Regions from separate parts of the Homo sapiens genome. Here region 2 is linked to region 1. The links are contacts of gene promoters, found by promoter capture Hi-C in human tissues and cell types (Jung and others, 2019). All regions are on one chromosome and are shown on one strand. Each heading gives the region's core, a stretch centred on a gene start or on the middle of the fragment in contact. The rest is flanking DNA. Distances are from core to core; before and after follow the strand shown. Region 1 holds the start of NUDT13 (nudix hydrolase 13). Region 2 overlaps P4HA1 (prolyl 4-hydroxylase subunit alpha 1).

Evidence for each region. The method cuts DNA at HindIII sites, captures the fragments that hold promoters and counts their contacts. A contact is called where the count stands out against the background at its distance.
Region 2: a contact is called between a fragment that was not itself captured here and the fragment with the promoter of NUDT13 in region 1, in 1 of the 25 tissues and cell types used here (adrenal gland).

What each region holds. Positions count from the first base shown.
Region 1 is chr10:73,108,458-73,113,790 of GRCh38, reverse strand. It overlaps NUDT13 (nudix hydrolase 13), which reads right to left and starts at 3,336. Exons shown (of 9, transcript NM_015901.6): 1 at 3,224-3,336. The HindIII fragment of the contact is 13,958 bases long and covers 1-4,556 here.
Region 2 is chr10:73,062,950-73,068,394 of GRCh38, reverse strand. All of the region lies in intron 5 of P4HA1 (prolyl 4-hydroxylase subunit alpha 1), which reads left to right. Among named protein-coding and RNA genes, the nearest start is that of P4HA1, 31 kb to the left of the region's middle. The HindIII fragment of the contact is 5,132 bases long and covers 1-4,947 here.

The sequences.
Region 1 (5,333 bases), core at 2,087-4,586:
AATGACCGAGGAACATCTAAAATTTAGTCCTACTTCTTGGTTGCATAATTATGAATCACTGATGATGAATTCTTGGACAGTTTTGGCTACAATCTATGTCCTAGCCATGGGTAAAATATATTTAGCAAATGACATTCAACAAAGTATTTATTGAGTACTGACTTTATTCAGGGTCCCTTAAAGAACACAAAAATGTAAAAGATGAAAATCCCTGCCCTCAAGGAACTCTAGCAGGAGAGAGAAAACAAATATATAGCCAGCTTTCACAGAAGGCAGTATGCAATATGTGGGTTGCAAAGCACTCTAGGAGATTATTAAAAGTATTATTCCTACTTTAATAACCCCAAAACTAGTGTGATATACTATAAAAAATGTATTTAAAGTCATTATTTCTGGCTCATACACCACTCAGAATGTAAACTGGTATGATATTTTTACAGGTTGATTTGGAAATATCTATTAAAGTGTCAAATAATAAGCCTCTCTTTTTCCTCAGCAATTCCATGTTTAGGAATTTACCCTAGGAAGGAAAGGATATGTACAAGAACGTTAACTGAAAATTATGATAAAATGGATTAATACGCGACTTAAGAACAAATAGAAGGGCTGGGTGCGGTGGCTCACGCCTGTAATCCCAGCACTTTGGGAGGCCGAGGCGGGCGGATCACCCGAGGTCAGGAGTTCGAGACCAGCCTCACCAACATGGAGAAACCCCATCTCTACTAAAAATACAAAATTAGCTGGGCGTGGTGGCACACGCTTGTAATCCTGCCTACTTGGGAGGCTGAGGCAGGAGAATCGCTTGAACCTAGGAGGCAGAGGTTGCAGTGAGCAGAGATCGTGCCATTGCACTCCAGCCTGGGCAACAAGAGCAAAACGTCGTCTTAAAAAAAAGAAAAAGAACAAATAGAAAATAATATAACAGTGAAAAAAATATATATATATAGTAACAGGGAGAGAGACTTAGAACACATTATTAAGTAAACAAAAAAAGCAAGGAGGAATTGGAGGTGATACTAGTCAAAGTGTACAAAGTTTCAGTTAGGATGAATAAATTCTGGATATCTATTGTGTTGTATGGTAACTATAGTTCATAATATATTATATACTTGGAAATTACTAAGAAAGTAGATATTAAATATTCTCAACACACACAAAAAATGTGAGGTGATGAATATATTAATTTGCTAGATTTAATCATTTCACAATGTATACCTGTATCAAAACATCACATTGTAAACTATAAATATATACTTTTTTTGTCAAAAAGTATATATTATACTTTAATACCTTAATATTATACCTTAATAAAGCTGGAGAAAAAAACAGGTAACAGTTGGTTAACATGACCTAATTATTTATAAAAAAAAGGACACAGACATACCAATATACATAAATTATATGTATTTAATTATATTTTTCTTTCTATTTTTTTTTGAGACGGAGTTTCGCTCTTGTTGCCCGGGCTGGAGTGCAATGGCGCAATCTCGGCTCACCGCAACCTCCACCTCCCGGGTTCAAGCGATTCTCCTGCCTCAGCCTCTCGAGTAGTTGGGATTACAGGCATACGCCACCACGCCTAGCTAATTTTGTATTTTTTTTAGTAGAGATGGGGTTTCTCCATGTTGGTCAGGCTGGTCTCGAACTCCTGTTCTCAGGTGATCTGCCTGCCTGGGTCTCCCAAAGTGCTGGGATTACAGGCAAGAGCCACTGCCCCCGGCCTTATTTATATTTTTCAAATGACTAGAAGTATACATACCAAACTATTAAAGAGTGACTAATTTGGGGGAGTGGGATGAAGACAAATATTGAAAAAGGTGCCTGTAATTTTTATTTTGTTCATTTTTCTGTACTGAAAAAAAAATTAGCCATGTGTACTTATTCCTTTTAAGACAAAAGAAAAGCCTAATAAAATAGTAGTTCCTGAGACTAACTGGTTAATGAGGCTACCTCCATGCCACTGTTCCCCAAAACACCTCACCATATTCCATGAGCCAAAGGGAATTCATTTGGTGAGTTTCTTGGACCTTGGGAACTGCTGCCTGATGTTTTGCCTAGTTTCTGCTACTAAATTAACCTTAGCCAGTTGTAGATTATCATGGCTGCTGACTCATGAGCTGATGGTCACAGAGCTATTTATGTTTTTAAAAGTACAATGTTTGATAGAGATGAAAGGTAATAGCAGTCTTACCCAACTACTAAATGATGAGGCAAGGTGCTTTAACATTAAGAGTTTCTTTGAACTCCCCAACACAAATGATTCACACGTTTCTTATCCTGTTCATCTTTCCAGAAGAAAGATTATAAAGTACTACAGCGTGACAAAAAAGCCCATCTTGTAGTGAGCCGAGATCGCGCCACTGCACTCCAGCCTGGGCGACAGAGCGAGACTCCGTCTCAAAACAAAAAAACAAAACAAAACAAGACAAAACAAAAAAAGCCCATCTTGAATCTAGTGGTTACTTCCACCGTGAAGAGGCCAGGTTCCCTAGTATTTAAGAGACCTTTTTTTAGGCCGGGCGCGGTGGCTCACGTCTGTAATCCCAGCACTTTGGGAGGCCGAGGTGGGCGGATCACGAGGTCAGGAGATCGAGACCATCCTGGCTAACACGGTGAAACCCCGTCTCTGTTAAAAATACAAAAAAAAGTGGCTGGGCGTGGTGGCGGGCGCCTGTAGTCCCAGCTACTAGGGAGTATGAGGCAGGAGAATGGCATGAACCCAGGAGGCGGAGCTTGCAGTGAGTGGAGATCGTGTCACTGCACTCCAGCCTGGGCGACCAAGTGATACTTCGCCTGTGTTTAGAGTCCGTTTCTCCACGACTGTGGACCTCCATGGGACAGGGAAATATGGAAAACTGAGGAACCACGGGAATACAGCTTTGAAGGTCTCACTGACCTGCTTTATAGTTTGCTTTCTAAAAAATAATTTTCCCTCCTTTAAAAAAAAATAAAAATTAAGGCACAATGTGAGAGGTTGGCAAGTTCCATTTTTAAATGACTCTCCAAAAAAGTATCAGAAAATGATGAGCTGTGGTTACTGATGTAGCTCCACAGTTATGAGGCAAAACTATGGTTATATCCCTGGTTTCTGCAAAAAGGAAGAGATTAAGCTAAAATGTTAAAATGCTGTGACCACGACCTTTTTTCAAGTTCTGATCATGCCTCCCTGTGAAGTCCTTCCTGCACTTAGAAGCTGAGCAGGTTTCTGTTTCACTGTACTCACTCTGAATTCTTTTCGGGGCACCTTCCTAGTCCTCAGGAATCAGCACAAAAGAGGAAACTCCAAATGTTCACGTTCAACGGCTTCCGTTCCCTGGAGGGACCATTGCTGCTTCTGCCACACTTCCCAGAATCCTCCTAGAGATGCACTCTGGGAATTGTAGTTCAGTTCCCAGGCATGCTGCTGTGTTCTCCAGCTGCAAGTTAACCATGATTGTCAAAAGCATGAACATCTAAGATCTTATTACCAAGAGAACTACTGTATCCTTGGAGAAAGTAGGTTAGTATTAGATCCATTTTTTAATTAAAAAAAGATAAAGTCATTAAGTCCACCCTCATACACAGAAGGCATATATTATGAGGCTGGGGAGAGGATGAAGCAGGGGTGGGAATCAAATACCTTTTAACCTTAGTATATCTCTAGTTCTCTCTCTGCACACTTTAGAACTAGCTCTAAAATTTCATGAAGTTCTTCCAATTTAAAAGGATGGGACTCTGTATAGGTATGTATAGATATGTTTGAACTTATGGTAGGATTCATTTCTTGATCAGAGGAAGCGCATTCCATTTGACTGGAAGTAGTCTCCTAGAAGTGTGTCCGGAGTTGGTTCCTTCCAGTGGGTTCTTGGTCTTGCTGACTTCAAGAATGAAGCCGTGGAGCTTTCGGTGAGTGTTATAGCTCTTAAAGGTGGCACGAACCCAAAGAGTGAGCAGCAGCAAGATTTATTGTGAAGAGCGAGAGAACAAAGCTTCCACAGCGTGGAAGGGGACCCGAGTAGGTTGCCGCTGCTGTTGGGGGTGCCAGCTTTTATTCCCTTATTTGTCCCTGCCCACATCCTGCTGAATGGTCCATTTTACAGAGCACTGATTGGTCCATTTTATGGAGTGCTGATTGGTCCATTTGACAGAGTGCTGATTTGTGCATTTACAATCCTTTAGCTAGACACAGAGTGCTGATTGGTGCGTTTTTACAGAGTGCTGATTGGTGCGTTTACAATCCTTTAGCTAGACACAGTGCTGATTGGTGCATTTACAATCCTTTAGCTAGACACAGAGTGCTGATTGGTGTGTTTACAATCCTTTAGCTAGACACAGAGCACTGATTGGTGCATTTTTACAGAGTGCTGATTGGTGTGTTTACAATCCTTTAGCTGGAAACAGAGTGCTGATTGGTGCGTTTACAATCCTTTACCTAGACACAGAGCGCTGATTGGTGCATTTTTACAGAGTGCTGATTGGTGTGTTTACAATCCTTTAGCTGGACACAGAGTGCTGATTGGTGCATTTTTACAGTGTGCTGATTGGTGCATTTACAATTCTCTAACTAGACAGAAAAGTTCACCAAGTCCCCACTCCACCCAGGAAGTCCAGCTGGCTTCACCTCTCAGCAGAGCTACTTTGGTGCTGCTCTCTTCTCGTTTTACTACTGAAGTTACTTGCCTATGAGAGAAGACACTTTTTTTTTTTTTGAGATGGAGTTGCTCTGTCGCTCAGGTTGGAGAGCAGTGGTACGTACAATCTTGGCTTACTGAAACCTCCTCCTCCGGAGTCAAGTGATTCTCCTGCTTCAGCCTCCCGAGCAGCTGGGATAACAGGTGCACACCACCATGCCTGGCTAATTTTTGTATTTTTAGTAAAGCCAGGGTTTCGCCATGTTGACCAGGCTGTCTTAAACTTCTGACCTCAAGTGATCCACTCGCCTCAGCCTTCCAAAGTGCTGGGATTACAGGCGTGAGCCACCGCACCCAGCCAAGAGAAGAAGTCCACTCATTCAACATGTATTTAATGAGTACCCAATGTGCCTAGGACTGTTATAGGGATAGGATACAGCAGGGAACAAAACATGAAAATCTCTGTCCTCATGTAACTTACATTCTAGAAGGGGAAACAAACGAGTAAATATACAATGTGTCGTGGTTATAAAGCTTAAGAAGAAAAATAAAGCAAGATAAGTAGAGGGATTATTTTGCTATTTTATATAGGATGGTCAGCCTCATTGTTAAGATAATATTTAAACAAAGACCCTGAAGAAGGTGATGAAGAAACCAAATTTATATCTATGGAAAGAGATTTGTAGACAGAGCAAAATAAGCATATGCAAAGGCCCTGGGGTG
Region 2 (5,445 bases), core at 1,132-3,631, 44 kb after region 1:
TTTGGCAAAGTCCTCTTTTTAAGTTACAGTTGCTTTCATGATAATTTACTTTTGCCGTCCCTCACTTTTTCAAAGTTTGTGACTCATTACCACTACTATCTCCTGTTATTGTCAGCTGCAGAAATAAAATATGTTGTCTGTGTCTTCACATTGAAATTGATTTTCTCCGTAAGAAAAAATCACTGGGATGAGTTGTTAATCAAAATGTTTTCTTGCTCATCTCCCTTTATTTGAGGTGAAGGTATCCGTTGGTAAAAACTAAACATGGTATAATAGTAAATAAAATTTCTGTTAAGCTGGAATATAATTCCATTAATTTGAACTTCCAAAAATGTACAAATTTGCAAATTTTCAGTTTCTACTAATATTATACATTATAACGCTTTTGATAAGATTATAACCTTATTTTTAAAATTGGTTTCAGGTTTTCATAGATATTAAATACTTAATATGTGCCAGCTATTATGTTAGGTACTGGGGACACATAATGAACAAGACATACACTACCCTCGCCATTAGGGTATTTAACATTCTTACAGTATAGTAAGATGAGTGCTTGGATGGGAGAAATTCAGGATACCATATGAGCACATCAAAAGAAACCTATTGCTGGACCTCATAAGGGATGTAAAGGAAGAATTCCTGGAAGATACACATTAAAAAAATTGAGATCTAATGGACCAGGAATTAGCCAGAAAAATGGGGGAGAGGGAGACAGGAGTGGGTGTGGGAAAAGTGTTTCAGACAGAGGGAACATGTAGAAAGGTCAAAAGGAGAGAGCATATCATATTCAGATAACTAACATGTAGTTTGTATGGCTTAATGTAGAGTTCAAGAGGTGAACGCACCAGGTGGATATGGGGGTTTGGCTTTGTGAGAGTAGTGAGAGCTGAGACTAGAGAGGTAAGCAGAAGCCATCTCTTGGAGAGCTTTGTAAGCCATGTGGAAGAGATTGAACTGTCCTGAGTGCAGTGCGGAGCTATTAAAAAGTTTGTAAGGGAAATTTATGATTTTTCCTTTTAGAAAACCATTCTGGCTGCCGAATGGAGATTGGGTTGGGGCCAAGGGACGAAGAACCAGGGAGGAGGCTGTTGCAAATATTTAAGTAAGAGGTGGTAGTGGATAGATTATCAAGCTACTTATTAGAGTAGAATAGTAGAATTTGATGATGTACTTGATAGGAATTTCTGGCTTCATCAACTGGATAGATTCCATTTAACAAAATAGGGCTGGCATGGTGGCTCATGCCTGTAATCCCAGCACTTTGGGAGGCTAAGGTGGAAAGGATCCCTTGAGGGTAGGAGTTCAAGACCAGCCTGGGCAGCATAGCAATTCCCTGACTCTACAAAAAAATGAAAACTTAGCTGGGTGTTGTGGTGCTTGCTTGTAGTCCTAGCTATTTGGGAGGCTGAGGTGGGATGTATTCACACTGCTATGAAGAAATACCCAAGACTGGGTAAGTTATTTTAAAAAAGAGGTTTAATTGACTCACAGTTCCGCATGGCTACGGATGTCTTAGGAAACTCACAATCATGGCAGAAGGCACTTCTTCACAGGGTGGCAGGAAAGAGAATGAGGGCCAGCAGGGGAAATGCCAGGTGCTTATAAAACCATCCTATCTCATGAGAACTCACTGTCACAAGAACAGCATGGGGGAACTGCCCCCATGATGCAGTTATCTCCACCTTGTCCCGCCCTTGATAGGTGGGGATTATTAAAATTCAAGGTGATATTTGGGTGTGAACACAGAGCCAAACCATATCACGGGAGGATCACTTGAGCCCAGGAGTTCAAGGCTGCAGTGAGCTGTGATCACGCCACTACACTCCAACCTGGGCAACAGAGTGAGACCCCTATCTCAAAAAACAAAAAGCAAAAAAGAAAACATCCCACCTCAGCCTCCCAAATGTGTGGTGGTGGGTAATAAATGTTATTTAGATTACTATATGTGTTTTGTTTAAAAAATGATTATATTCCCATCAAAATGGTCCTGAATATTATTTAACCCTGATTTCACTGTGTTTAGTCTTAGGGGCAATATTCATTCTTTCTCAGGTGCTTTTTATCTCCTTGTTGACTTTTTTCCTCTTTTATCACAGTTTTGGGCTAGTTCTTATTGACTTTTCTTTCAGGCAAATTCCTTATAAGTAGAATAACTGAAATTTCCTAATCACATTATACCCTATAAGTGGTAAAAATAATAGCATGAATACTAGCATAAGAGTTTTTAGGCTCCCCCAACCCAGATTATTTTCTGTTGTTAATAGTCAAATATCACAAATGTGTTCGAAGGCTTCTTGTGCACCTTCCCTTGTTTAGAGGTAATGACTATTCTGAACTTGGTGCGTATCCTGTCATCTTTTTATACTTTATCATATATATTTTCCATTGTATTGTGTTTTTAAATTTTATGTCAATAGTACATCATACTCTATGTATCTTTCTACAACCTTTTTTTAACCTAATATTTTCAGTAAATTTATCTGTGTTGATCAGATTCATCTAACTGCTAATGTGGTATTGTATAACATTATTTATTCATTCTTCTGTGGATGGATGTACATTTAGATTTTGTCCAATTTTTTGCTTTATCAAATGAAGTTTGATACATCTTTGTTGATTTCTTTTTGTGGCCATGTACTCACGTGCAAGGCTTTCTCTTAGGGTATAAGAAATCATAGGGTATTTGGTTTTTCATCATACTTACCAGATGTGGCCAGATTGCTTTCCAGAGCATGTATTTATACTGTCACCAGCATTGTATGAGAGTTCCCATTTCTTCATATCCTTGCCAGCTCTTGGTTTTGTCAGACTTTAAAAATTTTAGCAATCTGGGTGTGAAATGGTGGGGGTGAGGGAGGAAGGATGCATGTATTTTAAATTTTCTTCAAACAAAAAAGTCAGAGAAATGCTTAGTGAATTTATATTGATGCCACATCACTCCTTGATTAGTTTCATCTGTTTCTTTTGCCTCTTTGGGCCTATCTTTTGAAATGCTTTGTTGGTATTTTAATGAAAAATCTGATAGGTTACATGCATTTTGACATCAGTGTTGTCCTTATAGTTCTTAAGGACTTCCTTCAGTTTTCAGATTGTTTGTTCCCAACCCTGATTTGTTGAATAGATCCATATCTGCCAAAGATATCATGCTTTTTTTTAAGCTGTGATTTTTTTTAGGGGGTGGGGGTCAGTAATAGAAAATGTCATATGTACAAAATTCAATTTGCTTCATGTGGAAGTTGAATGTTCACCCTTCTGGTCACTTGCATCACTGTCTTGGTAAGTTAATAAGGTAACTATAGCAAACAGTAGATTCTCCAGACATCTCTGGAGCTCACTCAGCTATCAGTGTACCACACTGCCTCAGAGGTGGGACATTAACTTCTAAGTGTGTGCATTTTAAACATAATTATCCCTTACAAATTAAGTTTTGATCCATTAAGTGTTCTTGTGAAGTGCAAGAATTTTTGGATTACGTGTCTCTCTCAGTTTAACGGATGATGTCTCTCTCAGTTTAACGGATGAACCATAAAAATCGATTTCTTTTTCTTTTTTGACATGGAGTCTCACTCTGTTACCCAGGCTGGAGTGCAGTGGCGCAGCTCGGCTCACTGCAACCTCTGCCTCCTGGGTTCAAGCGATTCTCTTGCCTCAGCCTCCCAAGTAGCTGGGATTACAGGTGCCCACCACCATGTCCAGCTAATTTTGTTATTTTTAGTAGAGATGAGGTTTCACCGTGTCAGCCAGGCTGGTTTTCAGCTCTTGACCTCAAGTGTTCCGTCCACCTCAGCCTCCCGAACTGCTGGAATTAAAGGCATGAGCCACTATGTCTAGCTAAAAATGTATTTCTAAATAATGTTTTTCCTATAGTGCCTATGATATTATAGTTTATTTTCTTTATTTTCTTTATTTTTTTGAGACAGGATCTCACTCTGCTATCAACCCAGGCTGGAGTGCAGTGGCACAATCACAGCTCACTACAGCCTCAACCTCCCAAGCTAAGGTGATCCTCCTACCTCAGTCTCCCAAGTAGCCAGGACTACAGGCATGTGCCACCACAAGCAGCTAATTTTTGTATTTTTTGTAGAGACAGGGTTTTGCCATGTTATCCAGGCTGGTTTCGAACTCCTGAGCTCAAGCAATCCACCCCCCCGCACCCCGCAGCCTCCCAAAGTGGTGGGGTTACAGGCAAGAGCCACTGTACCTGGCCTGATATTATAGTTTCTATTGTGACAATAAATTAAAAGACTCTTTAGTGTTAGTTTACTTTCAATTTGGTTTATTATATTCAATTTGGTATGTTCATGTCAGTCATCCATGCCTCTTCCTTTGAACCAAAGGAATTTACAACTTATTCTTGTTTCTCATCAAACTCGGTTTGCTTTTTATATGAAGCTTTTTACAGTCTTTTTCTGCCCATACCACTTTCCTTATTTCATTTTCTTCTTTGTTTTCTTGCCTACTTTTTCTTCTCATGTTCTCTACTTTGGAAACAGCCTTCCTTTTCAAATGCTGCATTACTTTTGATTTATTTTAAAATCAGATTCCCAGGCAGTCTGCCTTTAATATTGTTAATAGATCAGTAAGTAAGACAAGCAGAAATACTTTACCAAAGCAGAATAGCTAAAAATCTTCTACTATCTCTGCCATGCATGTTCAAATAATGTTGCCAGAATATCAAGTCATGTAAAAAAAATTATTGGTGCTATCTGCGTGGATTAATGGCATACTGTCATCTTATGTGTTTTGCATGTCCCTAAGAGAAACATTTATAATTGCTGCATTATGAGCTCATCTTCTCAGTTTACTAGTTCTCGTAACCGAAAAAATAATAGCATTGTCAAAATTTAATATGCATCTTTAGTTTCTGGAACTAACTCATGTTAAACTATTAAGAAGTTAGTTTCTTAGCATCTGCTGTTGTTGGACTATGTCCATCCAAAATTTAGGTGGTGAAACTTCATGGCCAGTGTGATGGTATTAAGAGGTGGGGCCTACAGGAATGGGATTTAAGGCCCTTATGAAAGAGGCTTTATGCAGCCACTAGCTCTCTTGCCCTTCAGCCTTCACCATGTGAGGACATAGCATTCTTCCCCTCTGGAGGATGCAGCAACAAGGTGCCATCTTGGAAGTGGAGAGCAGCCCTCACTAGACAATTGAACCCGCTGGTGCTTTGAATCTTGGACTACCCAGCCTCTAGAACTGTGAGAAAATAAATTTGTTTTTTTATAAATTATCCAGTCCTTGGTATTTTGTTATGGGAGCATAAATGCACTAAGATAGTATCCTTTCCTAGAGTGGAAGGCGGGATAGAGAATTATTTAAGGGAAAAACATCAAAACGTGGGTCTTCATCTTCATTTTAGGAGTATACTGATAATCAGTTACTGCCTGTAAGTGACTAATGGGGCCAGAAAAAAAAAGTGAATGGAGATGATTGTATGAT